Linked DNA regions of Homo sapiens: regions 1, 3 and 4 are each linked to region 2. Evidence: promoter capture Hi-C in 16 types of primary human blood cells and fetal thymus (Javierre and others, 2016). All regions are on one chromosome and are shown on one strand. The core of a region is centred on a gene start or on the middle of the fragment in contact, and the rest is flanking DNA. Distances in the headings are between cores, read along the strand shown. Region 1 holds the start of LYPLA1-TCEA1 (LYPLA1-TCEA1 readthrough). Region 2 holds the start of SOX17 (SRY-box transcription factor 17). Region 3 has its middle 19 kb from the start of MRPL15. Region 4 has its middle 41 kb from the start of MRPL15.

Region 1 (3,097 bases), core at 546-3,045, 360 kb before region 2:
TAGCATTATCCCACCAAATAATTTCAGAACTGGAGACCTTTGTTTTTTCTTTTATCACAACAGGTTAAAAAGAAGGATACTTTTTTAATATAAACTTAACTTTTGGTCAAGATGTAATGGATGTTCTTGGTATTTTTGATCCTAATAGTCTTCACCATTTTTACTTTTAGCTTCAGTCTGTGGAATCTGCCTAGACTGAAGTTTTTTTTTTTTTGCTTGAACTAATCATTCAGGCATAGAAGTGCTCATTATTGGCAAAGTTAGAGGATAGCAACCTTCTCCCTGACTTGCAACATCAAGAAAGGTTTGGCCATAAAATAGAGATTCTGCTATTCGAGTTTCATTTGGTAAAATAAGTTCATCATTTTCACAGGACCACTGGATTGCCAGAAAGAGTGCTGCAACCTTTTCTGTAACTCCATACAAAGTTTGTATTACATAACTCGACTTATTAGGCAAAAAATAGGAATCACTTTTAAGTGGTGGCTCACGCCTGTAATCCCAGCACTTTGGGAGGCTCAGGTGGGTGGATCATTTGAGGTCAGGAGTTCGAGACCAGCGTAACCAACATGGCAAAACTCTGTCTCTACTAAAAATACAAAAATTAGCTGGCATGGTGGCAAGCAACTGTAGTCCCAGCTACTCGGGAGACCCAGGAACCCAGAAGGTGGAGGTTGCAGTGAGTCAAGATCACGCCACTGCCCTCCAGCCAGGGCAACACAGCAGACCCTGTCTCCAAACAAACAAACAAAAATCTAGCCTAATGGCATTTTTTTTTTTTTTGAGTCTCACTCTGTGGCCCAGGCTGGAGTGCAGTCGTGCAATCTTGGCTCACTGAAGCCTCTGCCTCCCAGGTTCAAGTGATTCTCTTCTCTCAGCCTCCCTAGCAGCTGGGATTACAGGCATGCACCACCACACCCGGGTAATTTTTATATTTTTAGTAGAGATGGGGTTTCACCATATTGGCCAAGCTGGTGTCGAACTCTTGACATCAAGTGAACTACCCACCTCGGCCTCCCAAAGTGCTGGGATTACAGGTGTGAGCCACCGCGCCCGGCCCCAATGGTTCATTTTAAAGAAAATTTAGTCGTTCTGGGGCTACTTTATCAAAATTTATTTATCTTCAGTTTTCCTCTATTTCTGCAATTTTTCAACAACATTCATATTTTGCTTAAGTTTCACAGATTATCACCAATTTAAATATAAAAACAAAAACATCTCAATATAGAAAAAGCTTGAGTAAAAGATAAATCATGTATCTAAAGTTAGTACAAAAGGCCAGGCTCAGGCAGCTCCCACCTCTAATCTCTGTGCTTTGAGAGGCTGAGGCTGAAGGATCACTTGAGCCCAGGAGTTCAAAGCTGCAGTGAGCTAAGATCCTGCAACTGCACTCCAGCCTGGGCGACAGAGAGAGCCCTTGTCTCTAAAAATAATAACAAAAGAAAAAAGCAAACAAACAAAAAATAAAATAAAAATAAGTAGTTAGTACAACAAATTGTTTGATAAGCCTCCAAATAAATCTTTGAGTTGCCTCCCCTGCCTTTCAACTCATTAGAGTGAACATCTAATCCCTCTATTCAGAATGCTGCATGCCTTATGTTGCCACTAGTTCTCTTATCAAAATCAACTAGTTCTTCTCTTCAATCTGCTCTGAAATTTTAACTGCTCTGGAAAGCTCTCAATTGCACACCGTCCCTACTAACATTCCACGGATCTCTGGTATCCAATACCCAAAGCAACTAATGAGGAATTTGAAATTTTAATATGTTCCAGAAACCAGAGTTAAAAAATCAATAAACTCACGATGATAAGGGGAAAATTCTGAGGGTTTTCAAAACATAAAATCACCGCACTGTAAGATACATTAACTGGCAATCTTAAAATACCATTTTAGCGCCCTTAAACATTAAACCTTTGAACGCGTAAACAAAAGTTGCATGACCCAGTTTCATTACTGTTACTATTAATAATAATGGTACCTACCCAGTATCTCCCAATCCATGCAGGAAAATCACCTATAAGAGAAGAGGAAAATTAATAAGCAATGCCTAAATAAGCCCACACAGGATTGTTACACACTAGCTTTGCTTAAGGTGGAAAACGGAACGAAACCTACGAGAGAATTACACAACACTATCTTCGGCGACTTAATCTTTATCGACCTCTTTTAAATGGCAAAAATTCTGATCAACTTCTCCCTTTATTTCCTGAGATAATGAATGGGGGGGGGGTAGCACTGAGAGGTCCCAGTTAGACATTGAGTGCAAATGATCACATTCTAAGAAAAACAGTTTATCTCTTTCAAGTGAAATCAGGAACATCTCACATATCCTGTAGAATTTTTCCACTGCAAAAGCAAGCTTCCGGAGGCAAAAATAAGTTTGACTTTTCATACACGAGTTTTCTAAAAAACAGTACGTCTGACCTTGTAGGACACTCAATCTTCAAACTTCTTTCATTGAGGATAAGAGTGCGAGGTGACAATAAGGCGATTTCCTGGCGGACTTAGGTTTCCCTCACCCACACACCAGGCAGAAACACGCTGCAGAGGCTGACGCCGTGCCCTAGGCCGGCCCGCGGGGGTCCCGGGGCCACACTTCCTCCGCAATGCAGGGAGGAGCTGGGGACTGGCCCTCGCGCCGGCTGTGACCCCCCGGCTGCCCCCGCCCCCCGCGGACCCGGCCGCGCGGACCATTCGCACCCCACCCGGGCCGGGAGGAGCGTCCTCGTCCGCAGGCCGCCACGCGCCCGCAACGCCCACCCCGCGCGAGGGGCAACCACCGGTGGCCGGCCCAGTGGACCCCTCCGAGCCCACGCCTACGCCACTCACCGCAGCGGTGGCCTTCCGGGCGGCGGGCACGATGGCGGGCAGCGGGGTTGACATGTTATTGCCGCACATACACCGCCTCAGCTCACAGCGCAAGCGGAAGGAAGAGCGGGCGCCCGGCCGCGGCCCAAGGGCGTGCGAGCGGCGAGTCCCGGCCGGCCCCACCGGGCGCACGCTCAGGCGCGTGCGCGCCAACGCGGCCCCGCGCTACCTTCCGCGCGCGCCCGCGCGTCCAGGGTCCGCCCTGCCCTGCCCCTCGCCCGCCGCCCC
Region 2 (2,973 bases), core at 474-2,973:
ACTACCAACTAGAAGTAACACCTCTCTATGATTTCTTTATGCAGATTTAATTTTTTTTCTTGTTTGAATCTTAGAGACCCAGGAACTAGAAACACTTTCTTAACTTGTCCCCTAGCCAAGGCTTCACAGATACTTGCAGAATTAAAGATAAGTTGGCTTAAAACAATTGTGTAAGAGTTCTTTTGAGAAAAAGCAATGCCAGAGAAACTGAAGGCCAGGAGTTTGCAAAAGTTTTGTATTTTTATGGATGCCACTAATAAGCAAGACTGGACAGACGGTCTTGTTGTTGTAGTATCACACTCAAAGCAGCAGCATTTTACTTCTCAGATTCCAGGTGTAAGCTCTACTTTTTTATCACGCCTTCATAATAAAGAAAATCTGTTCTGGAGATTCGTATATTGATTTCTTTGCAAAGTTATCTCTAATTATGCAGGAATGGCTGTTAGTTGCCCTCAAAAACCAACACAAATACACAAACACAACAGCCTGGCTTAGTGATTATTAAGAGCTGCAAGTCTGAAGGCGGACTGCTGGGTGTGAATTCCACCTTCTCAACGCTGTAGTCTCCAGCAAGTTCCTTAACTTCTCTGCCTCCGTTTCCTTTCCTGTAAGATAGAGTCTACCTCAGGGTTAATATGAGGATATGCTTCTTTGCTAATGCTGGAGGGCGCTAGGAATAGCAGTGGCAGGCTGTGTCATTTCTCAGTGTTGTATAACGGCTTGTTTTAAAAGTCCCACTGAAAACTTTTTTTTTTTCCAGATCGAAACACAAGTTTAATAGTCATTCAGATTTCATTCCAGTCTAAAGAAACTTATAGAAATCTAATTATCTGCCAGAATAACCGCTTTAAACTGACTGTAAGAACCACAGTTACTTTGCAGCTAAAACAGATTGTTCTCTTCCCCCAAACAAACTCGGACATTTAGACAAATATTGCTGCTGTCTTTACATTTTAGAAATCAGTATTAAGGCTCACCTGTTACTGAACACATACGAGAAACAGTTTTGTTATGCGTATCTTATATACATCATGTATACATTTTCGTACTTTCACATGATGTGTATAATAAGATACACATAAAAACTGGTTGGCTTGTCATGAGTAAATGCTTTATTCTTTAGAGTGAAGGAATATTGGATACAGAACGTCGTTCCATATTTAATCTTGCTTTAGAAAATTAGGATTTATCTTGGACACAGCATTTTGAATATAACACAGGCAAGTTGAGTCCTGGGGGAAAAATTGTATTTTTAAATTTATTATCAACGGTGTCTTTCGCATTTGAGAAAACACATTTGAAGATGCCCATGCAGTTCCTTGGAAGTAAACTAGGTCACCCACCACTGAAACACCCTCGGCTTCTGCAAAAAGATGTGCTTTAAAGAGAATAGAATGGACGCTCGGTATGTTCATCTAAACGACCTTGGGCAAGTACGTCGATTCCAAGGTACAATCAGCCCTCCCAGACGGCTTTTCGAGTCTCCCTAACCCCGGTGGGAGAGGACGCGGCGCCAGAGCCCAGCTCCGGCTAGTTTTCCCGGGGGCAGGTGTAGCCTTGGGCGCGGGGCCGGGGGAGGGGCAAGGGGCGGGCGTGGGGTTGGACTGGGACGTGGGACTCGGACCACGGCCTGGGCGTGGGCCTAACGACGCGGGACCGGCCCGCCCTCGCCGCTCCATTGGCCACATCTGTGCAGAAAAGGCCCCGCGGCCCAGGGGCGCCCGCAGTGTCACTAGGCCGGCTGGGGGCCCTGGGTACGCTGTAGACCAGACCGCGACAGGCCAGAACACGGGCGGCGGCTTCGGGCCGGGAGACCCGCGCAGCCCTCGGGGCATCTCAGTGCCTCACTCCCCACCCCCTCCCCCGGGTCGGGGGAGGCGGCGCGTCCGGCGGAGGGTTGAGGGGAGCGGGGCAGGCCTGGAGCGCCATGAGCAGCCCGGATGCGGGATACGCCAGTGACGACCAGAGCCAGACCCAGAGCGCGCTGCCCGCGGTGATGGCCGGGCTGGGCCCCTGCCCCTGGGCCGAGTCGCTGAGCCCCATCGGGGACATGAAGGTGAAGGGCGAGGCGCCGGCGAACAGCGGAGCACCGGCCGGGGCCGCGGGCCGAGCCAAGGGCGAGTCCCGTATCCGGCGGCCGATGAACGCTTTCATGGTGTGGGCTAAGGACGAGCGCAAGCGGCTGGCGCAGCAGAATCCAGACCTGCACAACGCCGAGTTGAGCAAGATGCTGGGTGAGTCCGAGTCGCAGACCCAGGCGGCCGGGCGCGCTGGCGCGAATCGCTAGGCCGATTTCTTAAACCCCAAACTGTTCTTTGCGAGCCTGACGCCCAAAACCAGGGGTGTGTAGCGGCCACGTCCTTTCTTAAGGCTCTGGGTTCCCTTCCCGCTTCCCGCCCTCCGACCCTCCAAAGCAGCTTTCCGCCTTGCTCTCCGGCTCCCGGATTCCCCAGGTGGCCGGGGGCGCGGGTCCAACGGCTCTGGGAAGGCGACTTCCCGGCACCTCCGGGCGGCGCGAGAGCACCCTTGGCCCTGAACTGGGCCGGTTGTGTCCATCCCTCGACCCCTTCCCTAGTTAGGTGTCCTTTTCTGTTTTTCGAACGACCGGGTGATGGGTGAGCGGAAAGCCGCTTCCAGGAGACCAAAAGAAAGGGGTGCCTTTAGAGGACGGGTGTTCCCCAAGGGCTCGGACTCAGGAGTCCCAGATCTCCCTCTTTAACTTCACCCCGGTTGCGCAATTCAAAGTCTGAGGGGGGAGGTGCGTCCAGGTGGGGCCAGGTGGGGCCTGGAGCGGGAGCGCAGCCGATAAGCCCTGCGCCCCTCTCCCCCTTCCTTCCACTGTGCAGGCAAGTCGTGGAAGGCGCTGACGCTGGCGGAGAAGCGGCCCTTCGTGGAGGAGGCAGAGCGGCTGCGCGTGCAGCACATGCAGGACCACCCCAACTACAAGTACCGGCCGCGGCGGCGCAAGCAGGT
Region 3 (3,042 bases), core at 319-2,818, 300 kb before region 2:
CACATTTTCTGAATATTCATTATTGGGGTATTTAAATTGCGCTCTCTTATTCTTAAGCCATTTAAAATGGAATCTATTAGACAAATCACTTCATCTTTTAGACTGTAAAATACAATGACAAGCTTTGTAAAATATGAGGACTGTGTAAAATGACCTCTAAAGTCTGTTGTAATACACTGATGATAAAGATGTTCCCTTGGGCTGAGGAAAACTTCTCTGACCTCAACCTATTTGCATAGAAATGAACTTCCTTAAATTTAAACACATCCTGTGTTCTGTATTCATGTAAGAGGTTCCATTTTTTTCATATCAGAGTGTACTGGCTTTGCTTTAGGTAAGTTACTGCCTTGCCTTATTTGTGCCACAGGAGGTTTTCCATTTGTGATTCAGTTCACAATTGTATGTTTGGAGGGGCTGGTACTGCCTCAACAGGAAAAGTTCTTAATGGGGAACAAGGGAGGAAGTTAGTCACCTAAAGATAGACTGCACAGGCAACAGCCTTCCAGGCTCAGAGTGACCCTTGGGTTCCCTCCCCCATCCTCCAAGTAGAATGACTACACTACCCTAACAACAGTTACGGAAGGGAAAAGAGACAGTCAAACATTAGACTTACTTCACTGTGGTTGTCTTAGGTGGCCTACAGGTGAAAGGAAATTGGGAAAGAATGATAAAGGAAAGAAAGAAAACAGGAAACAGATGTCTGGTGATGAATAATGCTCAGATAGTACTTACTCAGTGAGCATGGGCTTAGTCACAAACAGCTGTATCCTGGTCTCAATATTAGAATCGTGCAGATAAGTTCTCAGCCAAAACAGGCACGTTCCACAAAATCTGTCTATTCTGTTTAATAAAGTTAATCCTCAAATTGCTGTATAGCCGGGAGACTCAAGTTCATTGTAACTACGCAGCAATACTGGGCTCTATGATGCTGATATACCATGGCCCTTCAGCCGTGTACAAGGATAATGGGGCAGAGAGTGTGCTAGCAGATGGTATTGTTATCTTGTTAAGGGTTCATATTACTTGGAAATCTAAGAATAAAAGTAAGAATGCTTCAGTCTAGATTTTAGTCCTCTCGTGGTATGTGGCTTCCAGTATATGTGGCTAGTTTGCATCCAATCCATTGAGTTAATATGGATTTTAAAATATTTTTTTAACTCCTTAGAGAAATAATTGCTAGGGATTTCCTGTCTATTGAGTTCCCGGGTTTTCTTTTTTAAAAATGCTACTCTCTGTTCTTTGACAATGAGAGTGGCTCTACCATAGCCGGGGAAGATGTCAGATAACAGCAGTGTAACCCAATTTAGTTCGTGTCAGAGAAAAAAGTGCGCTCTCTGATGTTCGCACAGATCCCAGAATGGCTGCATTTTGATGCTTTACTGAAAAGACATAGCATGGTTGAAGTAGCACAGCTTCCATGTCACCAAACCTGGATTTGAATCCAGGCTCTGACAGCAGCTGTGTGACCTCGGGCACATCACATAACTGCTGTGCTCTCATCTGTCTCACATGTGAAATGGAGATAATCATACCCACCTCTGTGCTTCTGTGTTTGGGAGACCCAGTGAGGTTATTTGCGGGGAGACACGAAGCTCAGCCAGTTTGCAGAGCCACCTGGAGCAGTTTACTTGGGCTCAGATGCCAAGACTAGCTGTGTGACCTTGATATGTTACTTAATATCTCTGCCTCAGTCTCACCATCTGAAAAATGGGGGATGATTAATCCTAATGCATATGGGTATGAAGATTGAAAGAAGTCAATATTTGTAAAGCACTTACCATAATGCCTGACACATAAGTGCCTCTGTAAGTGTTCATAAATCAAGTTTTTTTTTTTGAGACAGAGTCTCGCTCTGTCGCCAGGCTGGAGTGCAGTGGTGTGATCTCAGCTCACTGCAAGCTCCGCCTCCTGGATTCAAGTGATTATCCTGCCTCAGCCTCCTGAGTAGCTGGGATTATAGGCACCTGCCACCACACCCGTCTAATTTTATATTTTTAGTAGAGACAGGGTTTCACCATTTTGGTCAGGCTGGTCTTGAACTCCTGACCTTACATGATCCACCTGCCTCAGCCTCCCAAAGTGCTGGCATTATGGGCGTGAGCCACCATGCTCGACCTCACTTGGCATAATGTTTTGAAAGTTATCCATGTGGTGGCATGTTCCAGTACCTCATTCTTTTTTATGGCCAACTAGCTTTCCATCGTGTGGAGTGTGTATGCATTCATCAGTTGGTGGACATGTGGATTGTTTCCATGGTGGGGCTATTATAAATAATGCTACTGTAAACATATGTTTGCAAGTCTTTATGTGAACATGTTTTTCTTTTTCTTGGGAATATATTTAGCAGTGGAATTGCTGAGTAGATTAGCAAATTTATGTTTAACTTTTTTTTTTTTTTTTGAGACAGTGTCTCACTGTGTCACCCAGGCTGGAGTGCAGTGGCACCATCTTGGCTCACTGCAACCTCTGCCTCCCGGGTTCAAGCGATTCTCGTGTCTCAGTCTCCTGAGTACCTGGGATTACAGGTGCGCACCTCCATAGCCCACGTAATTTTTTTGTATTTTTAGTAGAAATGGGGTTTCACTATGTTGCCTAGGCTGGTCTCGAACACCTGGCCTCAAGTGATCCACCTGCCTCAGCCTCCCAAAGTGCTGGGATTACAGGTGTGAGCCACCATGCCTGGCCCATGTTTGACTTTTAAAGAAACTGCCAAATTGTTTTCCTAAGTGGCTGCACCATGTTACTCCCCCACAAGAAATGAATGTTCCTGTTTCTCACATCCTTGCCAACATTTGTTATTATCTGCATTTTTGATGATAACCATTCTAGTGGGCACGAAATGGTTTCTCATTGTGGGTTTGATTTGCATTTCACTAATAATGATGTGGAACATGTGGAATGAGAATAGCTTCTTGGCCATTTGTATGTAAGAGACTTCATATTCTTCTATGTACTTGAAATTTTATAAAGATAATTCTGATGATTATCGAGCATCCATATATATAGGAGTTTTTAAAAGCTTTATCTGTTCATCTTATTCAA
Region 4 (2,768 bases), core at 3-2,502, 280 kb before region 2:
AGCATTACTCACCGGCTTCCGCTTCTGCTGTGATTTTGGCTGGACTCCTCCCACCTGGGCTGCCGCATTTCTTGCAGTTTTCTGAGCGCAGTTCTCGCGTCTTTCCAGGTTGTTTGAGAAATGCAGGGAATACTTTTCTGCTTAAATTCTCCAGGGTCAGTTTTTCTGCTGCTGCGGAAGACACCAGGCGTATTGAATGGTGGCAGCAGGCAGGGCTGCATCAATTTACCAGGACGGGGGTGAGAGCCGGGGCCTAAGCGGTCGCCTCCGCTCTTGCGTTTTCCCGGAGCCTGTGGGCTGTGTGATGCCGGGGCCTCCCGCAGCCCCGCTGCGCCCGCACCCACGCTTCAGGGCGATTCCCCGCAGGCATAACGGTGCCACTTCCTTAACCAGGCTAAACTCCCGGGCTGTTGGGAAAGTTCATGCCATCACATACCCAGGATGTGTTATTTGCTTTTAGAGCCCTTTGAGTTTTCCTCTGGAGCACTTCAGACACTTTAAAGTTTATTTTTATAGTTATTTGATTTCTGTCTGCCGTCCTCGTTATGCGGAGTCCACCAGGGCCGGGATCTGGGCTATTTTATGCCTGGCACCAAGTAAGTGCTCAGACGCCATCTTGTTGACCTGAAATTTTCGAAGGTGAGGGCCTCAGAGACCCTTGATGAGAGAGTAATTTTAGAAAGGTTTACAGGCTGTGGCCTGGCGCTGCACCCGGGTTACTCCACTCCGGTTCCCAGTTGCGTCCTTCAGGCCCGGGGACTGCCTGGGTCCCCTTGTCTAGATCCTTCCTGAACATTCTGTAGGGAATAGGGCGGTGCCGGTTTATTCTACCTAAAGCGTGCGTTTGTAAATGTCAATGCGCAGCAGTTCGGTGGGGTTAGAAGGCTGGCTAGGAGGAAGCGAGACAATGGGTGAAAATCAAGGTTGAACCCAGGAATCCGGGGAAAGGAGACACCGTGAGTGAAGGAAAACGGGGAGCCGCTTGGGAGTGGAGCCCCCGGCAGAGCTGGGGGAGTAAGCCCCGTGTAGCAGGGAGCCGCTGCCAGTCGCTGTTGCGAAGCCTGGTAGGTCTTGGCCCAGCCCCAAACCCTACAATCTGCGCTGTGTGCCTTTGCCACAGACGGCGCTGCCTGGGCAGGGAGAGCCCTGGGGCTGCGGTGTGGGATGCAGGGATGGGAACCACATCATTGCTGAGGGCTCAAGCCACAATCTGGATGAAGAGGGGTCTGGAATCATGTGTCTATGGTGCCCACTACTTCCCTTTTCATCACCCTTGGTCGGACGGGTTCCACGGCCTGTACTTTCATGCCCGCTTGAGGTGGGGCTGGGTCACCCACACCTGTGGCCTTGAAAGGAGCCCCTACCAAATCCTCAGCCGGAGGCAGTGAAAGCGACCGTCGTTCAACCAAATCTGTATTTCACCCAGAAAAGGTGAAATCGGTGCCAGCGTTGTGCTGCAAAGTCCTGCCTGTGATCCCAGTTCCCGTAGAAACAGGTCAAAATCAAGATGGAGATGGTGAAGTTCACGCCTCATACGCGGAAGCCGTTAGGAGAACTGTGATGAATCCAGTCCGGGCTCTGTCATGGGTGGTGCCAAAGATGTGTGTAACTCTGTTTCCTGCTTATAGCACTGGTCTCCTACTCGACCCCTAGGGGAGAGAGGGCCTGTGGGGCTGTAGGGAACAGGAATGGCCCTGGGAGGGCAGCTGCCTGCTCCAACTGCAGCTGGTCCTAGCTGCCGTGACCTTTTTTTTTTTTTTAACTGAAACTGAGTCTCGCTCTGTTGCCCAGGCTGGAGCACAGTGGCGCCATCTCGGCTCATTGCAACCTCCACCTCCCAGGTTCAAGCGATTCCCGTGCTTCAGCATCCCGACTAGCTGAGATTATAGGCATGTGCCACCACACCCGGCTAATTTTTGTATTTTTAGTAGAGATGGGGTTTCACCATGTTGGCCAGGCTGGTCTGGAACTCCTGACCTCGGGTGATCAGCCCACCTCAGCCTCCCAAATTGCTGGGATTACAGGCATGAGCCACCGCACCCGGTCAGCCATTAGCTTTTTACAGAAAGCCTGGTAAGGGCTCTAGACCCCCCACGGTGGTGTGTGTGTGAGAGAACCCGTACATAGACACATACATACACACACACACACACAGACACACACACACGAACCTGGGAAAACTCAAGTCTAACCAAAGCATTAGGTCCTGTTTTACAAAAGGGAGAGGAGCTTATTAGTTCCTTGGGGAGACTGATCATATGAATGGGAAACATTGACCAAAGGGGACAAGTGAAAGTCATGAGGTCAAAGCCATAAGCTAGGTAGAAGGGGCAGCCAGGTGTATGGGCAAGAGCCCTTGCTTAGAATATGGATGAGCATATTCATGCCTGTAATCCCAGCACTTTGGGAGGTCGAGGCGGGCGGATCACCTGAGGTCGGGAGTTCAAGACCAGCCTGACCAGCATGGAGAAACCCCGTCTCTACTAAAAATACAAAATTAGCCGGGCATGGTGGCGCATGCCTGCAATCCCAGCTACTCGGGAGGCTGAGGCAGGAGAATCGCTTGAACCCGAGAGGCAGAGCTTGCAGTGAGCTGAGGTCGCACCAGTGCACTCCAGCCTGGGCAACAAGAGCAAACTCCATCTCAAAAAAACAAAAACAAACAAAAATAAACAACAACAACAACAAAAACAGGATAAATTAAGGAGTAGAATGCTCTATTTAAAAGACTGAGGAGGAAAGTCAAAGTTTCGCCAGCTGTGCTGTCT

Evidence for each region. Contacts are between HindIII fragments. The CHiCAGO score rates a contact against its expected background, and 5 or more counts as called.
Region 1: a contact is called between a fragment that was not itself captured here and the fragment with the promoter of SOX17 in region 2, in 1 of 17 cell types (endothelial precursors). The highest score is 7.1, in endothelial precursors.
Region 3: a contact is called between a fragment that was not itself captured here and the fragment with the promoter of SOX17 in region 2, in 2 of 17 cell types (endothelial precursors and megakaryocytes). The highest score is 14.5, in endothelial precursors.
Region 4: a fragment that was not itself captured here is called in contact with the fragment with the promoter of SOX17 in region 2 in 4 of 17 cell types (endothelial precursors, megakaryocytes, M1 macrophages and 1 more); the score reaches 25.3 in endothelial precursors.

The regions. Positions count from the first base shown.
Region 1 is chr8:54,098,925-54,102,021 of GRCh38, forward strand. It overlaps LYPLA1-TCEA1 (LYPLA1-TCEA1 readthrough), which reads right to left and starts at 3,023. Exons shown (of 21, transcript NM_001425842.1): 1 at 2,831-3,023; 2 at 1,984-2,015. LYPLA1 (lysophospholipase 1) reads right to left here and starts at 3,023. Exons shown (of 9, transcript NM_006330.4): 1 at 2,831-3,023; 2 at 1,984-2,015. The coding sequence starts at 2,899. RefSeq lists a silencer at 2,577-3,097. The HindIII fragment of the contact is 1,126 bases long and covers 1,233-2,358 here.
Region 2 is chr8:54,456,212-54,459,184 of GRCh38, forward strand. It overlaps SOX17 (SRY-box transcription factor 17), which reads left to right and starts at 1,724. Exons shown (of 2, transcript NM_022454.4): 1 at 1,724-2,234; 2 at 2,847-2,973. The coding sequence starts at 1,928. The HindIII fragment of the contact is 4,543 bases long and covers 1-2,973 here.
Region 3 is chr8:54,152,880-54,155,921 of GRCh38, forward strand. It overlaps the pseudogene RNU6ATAC32P. Among named protein-coding and RNA genes, the nearest start is that of MRPL15, 19 kb to the left of the region's middle. The HindIII fragment of the contact is 2,897 bases long and covers 121-3,017 here.
Region 4 is chr8:54,174,505-54,177,272 of GRCh38, forward strand. No RefSeq gene overlaps it. Among named protein-coding and RNA genes, the nearest start is that of MRPL15, 41 kb to the left of the region's middle. The HindIII fragment of the contact is 5,152 bases long and covers 1-2,768 here.